3 separate regions of the Homo sapiens genome follow, and regions 2 and 3 are each linked to region 1. Evidence: promoter capture Hi-C in 16 types of primary human blood cells and fetal thymus (Javierre and others, 2016). All regions are on one chromosome and are shown on one strand. Each heading gives the region's core, a stretch centred on a gene start or on the middle of the fragment in contact. The rest is flanking DNA. Distances are from core to core; before and after follow the strand shown. Region 1 holds the start of MAST4 (microtubule associated serine/threonine kinase family member 4). Region 2 overlaps MAST4 (microtubule associated serine/threonine kinase family member 4). Region 3 overlaps LINC02229 (long intergenic non-protein coding RNA 2229).

Region 1 (4,290 bases), core at 612-3,111:
GGGGCTTAGGGGAATTAGGGAATGGGTCATGGTTACTGCAAGTGGCTTGGCCAAGAACCAGCTAAGCAGCTAAGGCTTGTTCCATCTCTGCCAAGCTAGGACTCGCCTCCTCTCAACCTTGTGCCACATCCAGTTTTTGCTTCCAGGCTGGGGGCCTCTGATTGCTTACTCTAAGGGACAAAGGCAATTATTTACTAAAGCTAACCCCATCCAAGATGAGGAAAATACAACACTGGCACTCAGGAATTAATTTCACAATAAGTCTATGTTAAGGTGATGTTTTATTTGTGGCCCTGCCTGATCAAGATGACTTCCCCACAAGAAACGTCCAAAGCAAACAATCTTTTTTTTTTTTAAACTGAGTCTGGCTCTGAGACGTGAAGAATTGTACACTTCTTTAACTGTCCTCCAAAAGCAGAAAATAAGCCGGACAGAGCAGCCAGAAGGACACCAGAGTCCTATGCTCAGTGTGTCAGGAAGCGACCCACAAGTTCTGGAGGAACATCCTTCCAGGAAACTGGGCAGATACAGATCCCCCACCCCGCTCCGCCCCGCAAAAGGTAAGACGATCTGTACTCGGTTTGGTGACAAGCGTTCATCTGGACAAGCTGGAAACAAGTCTGAACGGGAGCTGCAGGCGCGCACGCCAGCGCCACCGAGGGAGCGCGGGGAGTCCTCTTCTCCCAGAGGACCGACGCTGCGGGGACGCGCCAAAACCACCCGCGGGCGATCCCAGGGGGCTGGCGCCACTGAAACCTCCGCAGGCAACTCCGCGGCTACCGCTGCCCCCCACCCTACTCCTGCCTCTTACCCCCAAGGCACCATTTCTCCCCCTCAACTCCCTGCCCCTCGGCCCAAGCGCTTCGGTGGGAAACAACGCCCACTTTGGAGAATCAGAGGTGAGTTGTGGGGACACGCCAGATGTCCAGATCGCATCCTTTCACAGATCAACCAAGTCAGATACAAACACGAAGGAGTTTGCTTCTCTGACATTTTAAAAACACACCATCAGGCAGCACACTGAGACACACACACGGGGGTAACAGCCACAGGGAAGTCAATAACCCACAGGGGGGCTCCTAACTATCGTTGTCCCGTGCTCGGGGCAGAGCGCTTGGGGTCCCTCCCTATCTCCAGGCCACAGCGCTCTCCTGCCCACTGCCTGTGCGCAGGATGGGAAACTACGGTCGCCCGGCTGCCGGAACCCAGAGTGGGCAAGCTGGGGAAAGGCCCACCTCCTCGTCCTGCTCCTCCTGGGACGCGCTGCTGCCCCGGGGCGCGGGCGGCACAGCTCCTCCGGGAAGCGGCGGCGGCAGCGCAAGGACTCCGCGCTCCAGCAGCACGCTTGCCGGAGCCCACGCGGCGGGCGCCCGGGCGCCCAGGGTGCCTCCCAACGGCGGCGGCGGCGGCGGCTGATGCTCTCTGGAGAAGCCGCCGGGCTCCCCTTCCTCCGACAGAGTTTCTGAGCCCGAGGAGGACTCGGCCGAGGAAGCACCCGGAGAGGACGCGGCGACCAGCGCAGAGGCTGGAGTCCGGCTGCCGTGGCCACTGCAGCCGCGGGGCACCGGCTCTGGCGCCTCCGAAACTTTCTCCCCCATTTCCCTGTCTGGCCCAAAGTGCCTCCCGAGCGGCGGGGGCGCGGCGCGCACTCAGCGCCTCCCGGGGAAGACGCGGGCTCCTGGGCTCAGGCTCACTGGCACTGCCGCTCCCGGGCTGCAGGGAGCCCCGCCAGCGACTACATGGCAGTGACGGGGCCGCAGGAGCCCGCTGCTAAGTTCACAGCCGCCCGGGCCCGGCCGCAAACGGAGGCTCCCGCGCGCGGGGACATGCCCGCTCGGGTCCGCGATCTGCGCTCCACTGTGCTCCCGCGCTGCACCCGAGCCGCGGGTACTGCGGCTTCTCCTTGCAAAACCTGCCTCCGGGACGGAGCAAGGAGACGGGCAGCCCGCAGAGCCAATGGCAGGGCAGGCGCGCTGGTGGGCGGAGGCTGCGACGCCTCCGGCCATGAGGGCCTCAGGTAGGGGAGGCGGGGCCCGGGCGCGGGCCGTGGTCCCGCTGGAGCGCCTGGGCGCAGGGGACAGGGACCAGGCGGGGGTCCCCGGAGGGTGGGGGCGGAGCCCAGAATCGGAGCCAAGGGCTGAGACTCCGAACTTAGCGGGGGAGTGGCTGACCGTCCTTGGGACGTCAGAGGGAGACGGCGAGCGGATGGTGAGACCTTGGAGAAGAACTGGACTTTGTCTCCAAAAAGTGGAATCAAGAAAACGGACAAGAAGGAGGGCTCTATAGGGAAAAAAGGAACCACACACACACAGTCACCCACGCACACGGACTCACCAGCGTGTTGGAGGAAAAGGACAGAAACTTCGTGGTATAGTGAGCGGACCCAAAGGGGAGTGACCTCTAATCTCTGCTTTTCCGTTTAAGCTCTTTGGGCCTCAGTTTCCTCAACTGTAAATGGCTACATTACTACTGGTCTTGGCAGGCTTAGAGCAAATATATATAATGCATCAGCAAAGTGCCTGGCTTGGATACACGGAGCGTTTTTAAAAGACTATTTCCTGTCTTTATTTCTGTTTGTAAACTAAAAAGTTAAGTCTGAGACTTGAACCTTTTGATAGGGAGGAAGATAAAAAAGTATGTCCTTGTATTTAATTAGGACCAAGCTCTGTAGTCCTACTCAAATTGTCTGTCTCGGTATGATCAGCTAAGCAGAGGATGAAAAGGATTCACTTTCCAATGTACATTCTCCTAGCCCTGGGTTGTAAACCAACAGGATACAGGACAGGTTGCTTCATTTTCCTTACCTCTAAGAACTAGGAGAAAGAACTTTCACTAAAGGTACCAATAGAGTACCCTTAAGTCCTTCCCTGGGGCTGGAGGATGCTGCCTGTCCGGTGACTGGAATTTCCTTGGAAGCCAGCACTCAGCTCAGCAGTGGGAAATAAATGATTCCTCTCTTGCCTTCAGCTCTAGTCCCATTCTGAGCTCTGGCACAGTGACCTGGGATGTAAATTCAACCGCCTCAGTTCCATGTACGTTGATGGAGATGTGTGCCAGGTGCAGGGGATACAAAGATTAATAAGTCAGGTCCCCTGCCCTTGAGCAGCTTATGGTCAAGCGAGAGATTGATACTGCATAATATAGCTCCCTTATCCATTTTAGAAGCTGTGATAAGTGATACAGGAAAAATGTGTGAGGGAGAAGAGGAAAGAGTTACAGAAAAACAGTAGCAGGTCCTTGAGCATCTTAGATTTCTCTTTGTCAGAGCAGCCTTGCCAAAGGTCCTTAAAAACTGGAGGACCCTAATTGAAAGCCCCTTCAGCTAATGAGCCTTTCATGCTATCATGGTATTTACAAGTGATACATCACACAGAGGGCTTCATCATATTGGACAGCAACCTTTGTCCTGATCAGTTTCCTCCCCTCAAGATGAAGGGGAAGGAAATACGTTTTGTCTATCTTGCTTCAGACAGCCATACTGCAAAATGGACTCCGGTTGTCAGGCTTTCATTGTGACGCTTCTGAATTATTCACAGGGATATGAAGACCTGCTGAGGCAAAAGGTCAAGTCTAGTGGCAGCTAAGTTGTGAGAGCAAGGCTAAAGAGAGAGCACAGTGGGGCAGTCCGAATTTAACCCGGGCCTCACAATTACTTTCCTATTTAGGAGTTCTGGTCTTTATCTGAGCCCCTACGTGGTTGATTCACCAGAGCTGAACTGAAATGACAATTTCAGCCATGCACATAAAAGAAGAGGAGGAGTTGCTTTTCAGTACATAGGGAAATAAGAAGCAAGGTCATGGTCTGAATAACCGACAGCAAGAATGACAATAGTTATTATCGCCTGAGTCCTCTGCATCTTCTCTGGATGGTCTCATTTAATCCTGGCAACAACCTTGTGAAACAGATTCTATTAGTCCCACTTTATTGATTAAGAAACTGAGGATCTGCAAAGGTCACACAGCAAGTAAGCAGTGGAGCTGTGGTTTGGAACCCAGCAACCTGATTCCAAGGCTGTCTTTCCTAGGCATTCTAGTATTAATACAATGCCACTCAAAACAGACAGCTTTTTCAAATATATATATATACCATATTATAAATATCCATAGGGAAGAAACTTTGCTGTATTGATTCAATCTGTAAAAGAAAATACTTGAGGAACATATTTGTTTTTCCCACAAACATTTTTAAGGTACTTACTATGTGCCAGGCAGGATTTTAAGCACTTTAAAATGTTAATATACTCAATTCTCATACCAGCCCAATGAGGTAGCTACTATTACTATTCTCAT
Region 2 (4,290 bases), core at 740-3,239, 120 kb before region 1:
AACCCATTAAACACTTGGTCTTAGTGTTTACTCAGCTGATAGTTTACAAATAGGAAATTCTTCAGCCTAGAGAAGAAAACTTTTAAAACTCTTATTCCTCCTTCCCTGCCCTGTTTCTCTGTGATTTCCCATTGGGAAGAAGATTCGTAAGGGAAAAAAAACTAGTTTATATTTCCTCCAAAAAAGAATAGTTATATCTTTTCTTACAACTCATTAGGTTTGAGAAAGCTTTTAAAATAGCCAAACAAGAGGAGGTACCCAAGGCGGTGCCTTTTGGTGGTGGTTAGACCTACATCAATGCAACCTCACACTGGTCCACTGTAGCTGGATTCTTAGCCCCCAAAAGGAAAATAATTCCCAAACATATGCAGTTCACTTCCCATAACTCACCCCAACCATTCTGCATTTGAAATACCTGCCGCTTCTCCTCTAGACACTTTCGGAAATTGGATGTTGCTTAGGTAATGCTAGTGTATAACTCTGCTTGGTGTTAAAGACCAAAGAAGAGGGAAGTTACAGTCTACATGGTTAAGCATGTGAATTTACAAAGCTATTACTAAGAATGACGCCAGGTCATGCTTTCAAAATGCAGAGCTGCACTCACAAACTATACTCGAAGTCAAGCAAGAAGCACAGAAGAGAAATGGAATAGCTCGAGAGGGAACAAGAGGGAACAAGCCCTCGAATGCATGATACAAAAGAGGAAGAAGATTCAAGGAGGATAACGAAGCTTTACAGGAACTTGGCTTTACCGGAACAGAGCACATCCAGACAAACTTGGGGAGATGAGGCATTAGTAAAAAACTCAGTGATATTTCTCAAAACAGCTCAGTTCTCTTATTTTCAAACAGAAAAAACAACACTGTAATAGATATCTTTCAGGCTGTCCACAAAACCCTCAGGCCCTTTCTCTGAAAAGGCTATATACCACATGACCTTGCCAGAGCCAGGGGCCCTGAGACAGATACCACCACACACGGGGCCAAGCACACTCACTCTCATATCAGCCTCTCCTGGGCACCTGAACTGGCCCAGGCACTCATGGGGTCCTCAGGTTCAGGAGGCACCAAAAGAGACTTCACCATACAAAAATGCCAGCATGTAGAAGAAGCCGTGTGTCTAAGGAGCAAGATGACATCATAACTTAATCATTTATACCGAAAGACAAGCTGTAAAAGGTGCTTTGAAAACAAAAAAACAAAAAAACAAACAAAAAAAACCTTCAAATAGAGTCCCTCTCATTTGCTTATGCTTTTTCTCAGCAAAGCAAAAAAAAAAGAAAAAAAAAAGAAAAAAAAACCCACTGGTTTTAAATATATATAGTCTGTCTCTGTGCATCTCATCCCATAGACTCTGAAAAGAGCCTTTGAAAGAGACATTTTTTTTTTAAAGCACACAGGATGTAAGCCACTGTGCAATGGCCAAGAGCAACAAAATACTGTCACAGCTGAAACGCAGTCCCTCATGTCCCAGTGAGAACTCAGGGATGGAGGAAGGCTAACAGCTGTGGGGAGGTGGTAGGAACCAGGCTTAGACCCAGCGGTCCCACGGCCTCCTTCCTTCCCTCAGGCAGTGAGCAGGGCTATGCCTAACTGGGAATGACTGAGACAATGAATACCTGGGACTAGCCAAATGATACCAGGAAGAGATAATCATCTGGAAACGTTTTATAAATATAAACATAAGGGAGATTAGCTGCAGCCTCCACCACACAAATCTGAGGCCAAGGGGTGGGGGAACAACACCTTAGACTTCAATGCTAGAAAGAATTTATTTTCCTAACATGGAGATCTATTAAATGCCTAGCAACCTCCCCAGGGAAACAGTAGCAAAGCCACTTCAAGTGGAGTGAGAAACTCATTTCTGAAAGCCTTTTTCCAACTTGGGAAATTTAACTCTATGCCTTTGTAACCCCAAGGGACTGCCTGGCTGAGACTGCACTAGGTGTAACCATATGTCAAAATTAATACATTGGATATGGTACTCACCCACAATTTGCTAGAAAACAGTCAAAACTAAAAGTGCCAAAGGAGGCCTTTCTTTATGAATATAGGCATAGCTACTAATTTATAATAGTAAAAATATCCACTTTGACCTTTGCCTACATAAGAAAATTAGAGAAGAAATGTTTTAAAAACCATAGAAATAGGCATCTCCCTGCCTCCTTAACCCCTAATTCAAGAATGATGGCTCTCTTTCTATCTTAATAGCAGCATTTTTGCCAGGAATGAATCCCTCCTCTCCACCTCCAAGCCACAGAGTATAGGGTAGCCTCCTCCCTCACCTGGCTGGATAGTCCTGGGCCCATCCTGGGTCTCCATCCTCCAGGGCTCTGCTTAGCCTGAAGTCCAGGCTCCTCTAGGAAACGCTCCTCTTCAGGGTCCAGTGTGCCATGGAAAGCCTCGCTTCCCTCCCGCTTAATACTCATCGCCTGGGATCAGAAGCGCTGGTCTCCCCCTACAGAATGAGCTCCTTGAGGGAGAACTTTGTCCTCTTCACCTGTGAGACCCATGCATAATGCACTAGGAGACATGTGTTTGTTGAATGGATATTGCTTGGCTTATTGGGAATTCAGTCAAAACAGAAGGGAAAGATATAAATGATAAAGGTGACATCAGTTCTGGTCATGGTACTCTACTACAATGGTTAATGTAGTCAAGGTGATAGCCAAAAAACACAACAAACAAGGGATGTATGCTTCTATCATGAGCCCTACCTGTCCAGGTCAGATGCCCTGGAGAAATGGTCTACAAAGAATTTTAAAATCCATATATCTTCTAACACAATTTAAAGACAAAATCTAGGCTGGGCACAATGGCTCATGCCTATAATCCCAGCACTTTGGGAGGCCAAGGTGGAAGGACTGCTTGAGGCCAGGAGTTCAAGACCAGCCTGGGTAATATAGGGAGACCCTGTCTCTACAGAAAAAAAAAAAAAAATTTTTTTTTTAATTAGCTGGGCACGGTGATGTACACCTGTAGTCCCAGCTACTCGGGAGGCTGACATAGGAGGATTGCTTGAGCTCATGAGTTCAAAGTAAGTGTGATTGCATCATTGCACTCCAGGCTGGGCAACCGAGTAAGACCCCCTCTCTAAATACACACATACATACACACATACACACACATAGAGAGAGAGATCAAATCTAAAATTGTTCATCCTAGGTTTAAATAGTGGCATGGTATATAATTTCTTGCATACTGTAAATAATGAAATTTTAAAATGAAACTGCTTTTATTCAAGCTTTTAAATGTATCCATTGTTATTTAAAATACATGAACAACCTTCCCTTTTACGCTCAAATTTTTATAGTTCCTTTTTTTCCCTTAAATTTATATTTCCATTCCATTTCTCTCACAGAATTTTATCCTAATAAAACACTTTTATGTTTTAGGGTTTTTTATTGATCATACTATCATACTCCTTCTGCAACAAAAATAGTTATGAAAATTAAAATGTATTTTTTATTTCCTGTGACCAAATGGTTCTAAATGTTAAAAATTTAATCTAGATTATCATTAAAACTATTAGTAGAATGCAATTTGAGAGAACAAATGTATAATTTTATAATGATTAAAAGTTAAAGCATTAAAGTAAATTTTTATTGGAAATGCATTCCTCAATGAGATGGATAGGATAATTTGATATCTGTATCCATAAATGAGTATTTTTATTGTCAGAATAAGCAATATTTCAACAGTAATTCCACTCCATTTTTTTTTTTTTTTTTTCCTGTCATGGCCTGAACCAGTCTTTCAGGTTAAATTTTTTTTTTAATTTTTATTTTATTATTATTATACTTTAAGTTTTAGGGTACATGTGCACAATGTGCAGGTTTATTATATATGTATACATGTGCCATGTTGGTGTGCTGCACCCATTAACTCGTCATTTAGCATTAGGTATATCTCCTAATGCTATACCTCCCCCCTCCCCCCACCCCACAACAGTCCCCGGTCCACTCCATTTTTTGGTATTAAAGTAAAAGCCTTGTTCATGTAAATAAGTTGATGGGAATGAAAGAAGTGTTGTGATAGCTGTGGCCCTTAATTCTTTAAATTCCTGAGATTTATGCCAAAAAAATCATCAACACATTACATGATAATCATCATTTTTTGACAAACTGTTCAGGGTCATGTTCAGTTTTGTTTAAAAAAATTAGAAGACATTTGATTTGCAAAAGGACTAATTTCTAAGACATTAGATTCATGCCCTCTATACAACAATCTTCTCATTTTCCCTTTTTCTGGCACCCTGAGGAGTGGGGATTACTTCCTGTGACTACATGAC
Region 3 (4,290 bases), core at 1,169-3,668, 88 kb after region 1:
TCCTTTCAGTTTACTTTTTTTCTAGGAGTCAGGTTTACAGGGGAACATTGTGACTCCATAGTCACAATTCTCAGGGTGAGAAAAGGCAGAAGGTAGTCATCTGAGATTCTAATAAAAAAGCCTAATTCTATTTATTTAGAGATGGTTCTCTCACTGTTCTACTGTTAGATAACCGAACAGTTGGCATTAAGAGGGCAGAATCAAGTAGAACAAGAGGATGATGGGGAGCAGACAATCAAATAATCCCATAACAAATGCAATTGCAACTGTGACAAGTGCCATGGAGAAATGTTAGAGGCTGGGAGAATAGTAGGGAGCTCCTGTGCTCATCTGGACAAAAGCTGATGAGTGTTGGCCCTGAAGGAATGGCAGTGACCTTTCAGAAAAAGAGATGTATTTTAGAAACATAAAGTATATGTAATCCAAAGCATTTGATGACCAGAGTCATTAGAAGGGAGGGAGAATAACTGAGTTTAGGGGCTTGAGTGACTGGATGAATGAGGAAACAATCAGATACCAAGAAAGAAAAGGGAGGAGGAGGAATACATTGGGGATAAATGATGGAGGGTTCACTTTTGGACACACAGTTTGAGGTATTTGTAGGAGATCTAGTAAAGCTGTACAGTGGGCAATTGAAAACATGTCTCTGTGGTGTACGTTTGCTTTTTTCCTTTCCTTTCCATTCTTTGCTTTCCCTTTCTCTCTCACTTATTTCTATTGTCCAATGTCATCTGCTTTGGATAGATGGAAAATTCCCCACTGAATGCATCCTGATGAGGGACAGCCCATATCCCAACATAAAATCTTAAAAGGCCAGATTTTTGTTTTCCTGGCCCCCTTGCAGCTAGGATATGTACACATGATCTAGGTTTGGCCAATCAGATGCACCCATCTGAGAGTCTGAATTAGGAGCAAGTTGCTCAAAGAAGCAAGGTCAGTGGAGAATTCATTCTGGAGGTGGCAACAACACCCATTTCCCAAGGAGTAACACTGGCAGAACAAACTGCAGTGTCCAGTGTTTGGGGCAGTAGGGACCTCCTTGGACAAATGCTGTGGCTTAGCTCTGCCTCCCTTTCTTCCAGCCTATTTTCTATGTCTTGTTCTCCAGTTTTTCGAACAACTCTGGGAGCTACACAGTATCTCTTTGATAATTTACTTTAGTGCTTCAGTTAGCCTCTGTGTCTTGTAGCTTAGGTCCCTGGCCAGCTCAGATACTCTAAAACCTGGAGGAGGGACTGGGGATTCATCAGAGGAAAGATGAAGCTTACAGGCATAGGGGAATGAGATTGTCCAGGGAGAGAGAGTGGAGGTCAGAAAAGAAATGGGCTGCAGCCAGGAGCCTGAGGCACAGCCACAGTGAAAGCATAAGCAGAGCAGAACACCAACACAGTACCTCTGAGGAAAATCACTTAAAGGCTTTTCTTCCTTTTCCAGATCAAGAGTGAAATCATCCAGAATAGAGTGAATTCGGGCTTCAGAGCGGCTGTTTAGGATTCAGAGCTCTACCAACATGAGCAATCTGTTGGCATGACAGGTCAGAGAAGCCGTGAAGGACATGGAAGGAAGTAGATGGAACTGGAAACAGGAGGCCAACCCCAGCAGTCAGGCAAGTACCATCCAGAGAACAGGAAATGTAAAAGGATCAGGTATAGCTGGAACACCTAGGCAGAGGGACTTCGGAAGTTCAAAGTTAGGGAGAATAGCACTGGCAAGAAGGCTGCACCAAGATATGTGCTGCTCCCAGGGCAGAGGCTCTTTACTAGCCTGTCCTTTCACACTGTTCACCACCTGCCTGGGAGTGTCTAGGCCAGGACTTACAGGTTTAAGAATAAGAACTCCATGGGGCATGGAATTTATAATTGAAGCAGGGCAGAATCGTTAGGCCTCCAATTGAAGCAGGGCAGACTCCCTAGGTCTCCTAGGAAGTTCTTGTTCCAGGCAACACAGATGACTGGGTAGTTTAAGTTATAAAAATATTTTATCCAAATTAGAACCAAACAATACATAATTTATTTATGGTTGTGAATTCATCCTTGCTGTGAATAGCTGCTACAGGTAGGGTGCTATTGGTCAGCATCTCATAGTTCCCTGAGACCTGCTGCAGGCACTACCTCTCACATCTAATTGGTACTCTGTCATACTCACTGCCCTGAGCTTTAATTGTCCAAGTCTTTTCAATTAGGCTGAAGCATCTCATAGCATTGAATACCTCTTTTATCCTTCCCCAAATTGGCCAGCAAAGCACAAGCATATATAAGTATTCAGTAAGTATTTGACCTAGATGGCTTATATATAAAAAAAACCAACACTAAGCTTTTATGGCTAAAATTTAAAACTAATCCCTATCATAGGTCATGGTATATTTCTCTTACCATTGCTTTTTCTTTCTTGTTCTAGTGGTGCTCAGAAAAAAATAAGACACTGAAATTTGAGGACTTAATGGAGTTTGGTGCCTTCAGTTAGCTGATGTCTATGAAGCCTGACCAGTCTACTTCTAGTCTATAAGATCATGTGGAAGCTTCAGTGACAAACTTCTACTTTACTAATGATTTTATGATCCTGTTACCCATTGCAATTGCTTAAATGGTATTTTAATTAGCTGCTTTAAATGACTTTGCTTTTTTACAAAAAGCAGTGTGTGCTTTAGTTTAAAATATGGGTCACTGGTGTTTCTTTCTAGAAGATGACTGTGTTTAGTACCAGGGAAAATTGGTGATGTATTTGGAGAGGTTTTAACTTCTGTAACTCAGGTTGATATCTGGAATGTGAGTGTTTCCATACTTCCGTGGATGCAGCAAATTTATATAAAGCGTTATTAAATTTGTTCTAGTTTTTAAATACTGTTAATTCTTTCATGGGCTTTCTATATTGCCAGTTTTTTTTTATGGTATCTGCAACAAGTCAATAAGCTGTGTTTATGTTTGTATACTGTTTTAGAAAGGAGGATTGACCCAGAACATTATGTGCTAGGAGAAATAAAAAGACTCTGCTATGGATACAGATTTGCTTTCCCTGTACGTAATGCTTCTGCCAAAACTACCATCTGTGAACTTACAGAATGCCTTATCCACCATGATGGTATTCCACACAGCATTGCTTCTGATCCAGGAAATTACTTCACAGCAAATCAAGTGTGGCAATGGGCCCATGCTCAGGGAATTCACTGGTCTTACCATGTCCCCCAACATTCTTAAGAAGCTGGCTTGATGGAACACTGGTATGGCCTTTTGAAGACTCTGTTACAGGTAGGCCTTATAGTTTCGTGCCATCTAGGTGGCAATATCTTGCAGGGCTGGGGCAAGGTTCTCTGTAAGGCTGTATACACTTTAAATCAGTATCAAATATATAGTACTACTGGATGTATAGTACCCACAGCCAAGATTCGTGGGTCCAGGAATCAAGGGATGGTAATGGAGTGGCATAATTATTACTCCTACTGACTCACTAGCAAAATGTTTTCTGTCCCTGTGACCTTATGCTCTGCTAGCTACGAGGTTTTAGTTCAACCAGGATCACAGTAATGATTCTGACATGCAGCCATTTTGGGATCCTTATGCCTCTAAATCAACAGACAATGAAGGGTGTTGCTATACCAGCTAGGGTGGTTGACTCTGACTACCAGGGAGAAATAAGACTGCTATCCCACAATGAAGGTAATGAAGACTACATCGGGAATACAGGAGTTCCCTTAAGGCATCTCTTGTTATTACAGTGTCCTGTGATTAAAGTCAATGGAAAACTACAATAATCCAATCTGGGCTGGGCTACGATTGGCCCAGACTCTTCAGGAATGATAGATTTGCATGTCATCCTCACCCCCGTTTTCAGGTAAAGAACTATAAATAACTATAACAAGCTAAGGTGCTTGATGAGAACAAAGGGAACATGGAATAGGTAGTGGAAGAAGGCAGTTATAAATACCAGCTACAGCCACATGACCCGTTACAGAAATAAGGACTGTCATTCACATGAGCATTTCCTCCTTATTTTGTTATATGTGTATGTGTGTATCAAACATCTTTGTTTTCTTCCTACTCTTATCCCTTTATCACCTAACATACGATATATGTCATAGTATTTAGCTTGTCTTTATCAAAGTATTTAAGTTCTGAGATATCAAGGAGAAGAGTAGGCAACACCCAGGGACTTTGAATCCTCTTCTGGAGAAAGTAATTGTACATTTTCACTTATATGTAAGATAGTTGTATTTCACGCCTGTAATCCCAGCACTTTGGGAGGCCGAGGCAGGAGGATTACCTGAGGTCAGGAGTTCAAGACCAGCCTGGCCAA

Evidence for each region. The method cuts DNA at HindIII sites, captures the fragments that hold promoters and counts their contacts. A CHiCAGO score of 5 or more calls a contact.
Region 2: a contact is called between a fragment that was not itself captured here and the fragment with the promoter of MAST4 in region 1, in 2 of 17 cell types (megakaryocytes and M1 macrophages). The highest score is 6.1, in megakaryocytes.
Region 3: a fragment that was not itself captured here is called in contact with the fragment with the promoter of MAST4 in region 1 in 1 of 17 cell types (total B cells); the score reaches 6.5 in total B cells.

The regions. Positions count from the first base shown.
Region 1 is chr5:66,593,964-66,598,253 of GRCh38, reverse strand. It overlaps MAST4 (microtubule associated serine/threonine kinase family member 4), which reads right to left and starts at 1,861. Exons shown (of 29, transcript NM_001164664.2): 1 at 1,236-1,861. The coding sequence starts at 1,598. RefSeq lists silencers at 1,116-1,265, 1,276-1,415, 2,026-2,225. The HindIII fragment of the contact is 7,618 bases long and covers 1-4,290 here.
Region 2 is chr5:66,715,174-66,719,463 of GRCh38, reverse strand. All of the region lies in intron 1 of MAST4 (microtubule associated serine/threonine kinase family member 4), which reads right to left. Among named protein-coding and RNA genes, the nearest start is that of MAST4, 120 kb to the right of the region's middle. The HindIII fragment of the contact is 2,513 bases long and covers 733-3,245 here.
Region 3 is chr5:66,506,092-66,510,381 of GRCh38, reverse strand. LINC02229 (long intergenic non-protein coding RNA 2229) reads left to right here. Exons shown (of 3, transcript NR_105001.1): 2 at 1,435-1,606; 3 at 2,398-2,838. All of the region lies in intron 1 of LOC105379002 (a long non-coding RNA gene), which reads right to left. Among named protein-coding and RNA genes, the nearest start is that of LINC02229, 3.4 kb to the left of the region's middle. The HindIII fragment of the contact is 205 bases long and covers 2,316-2,520 here.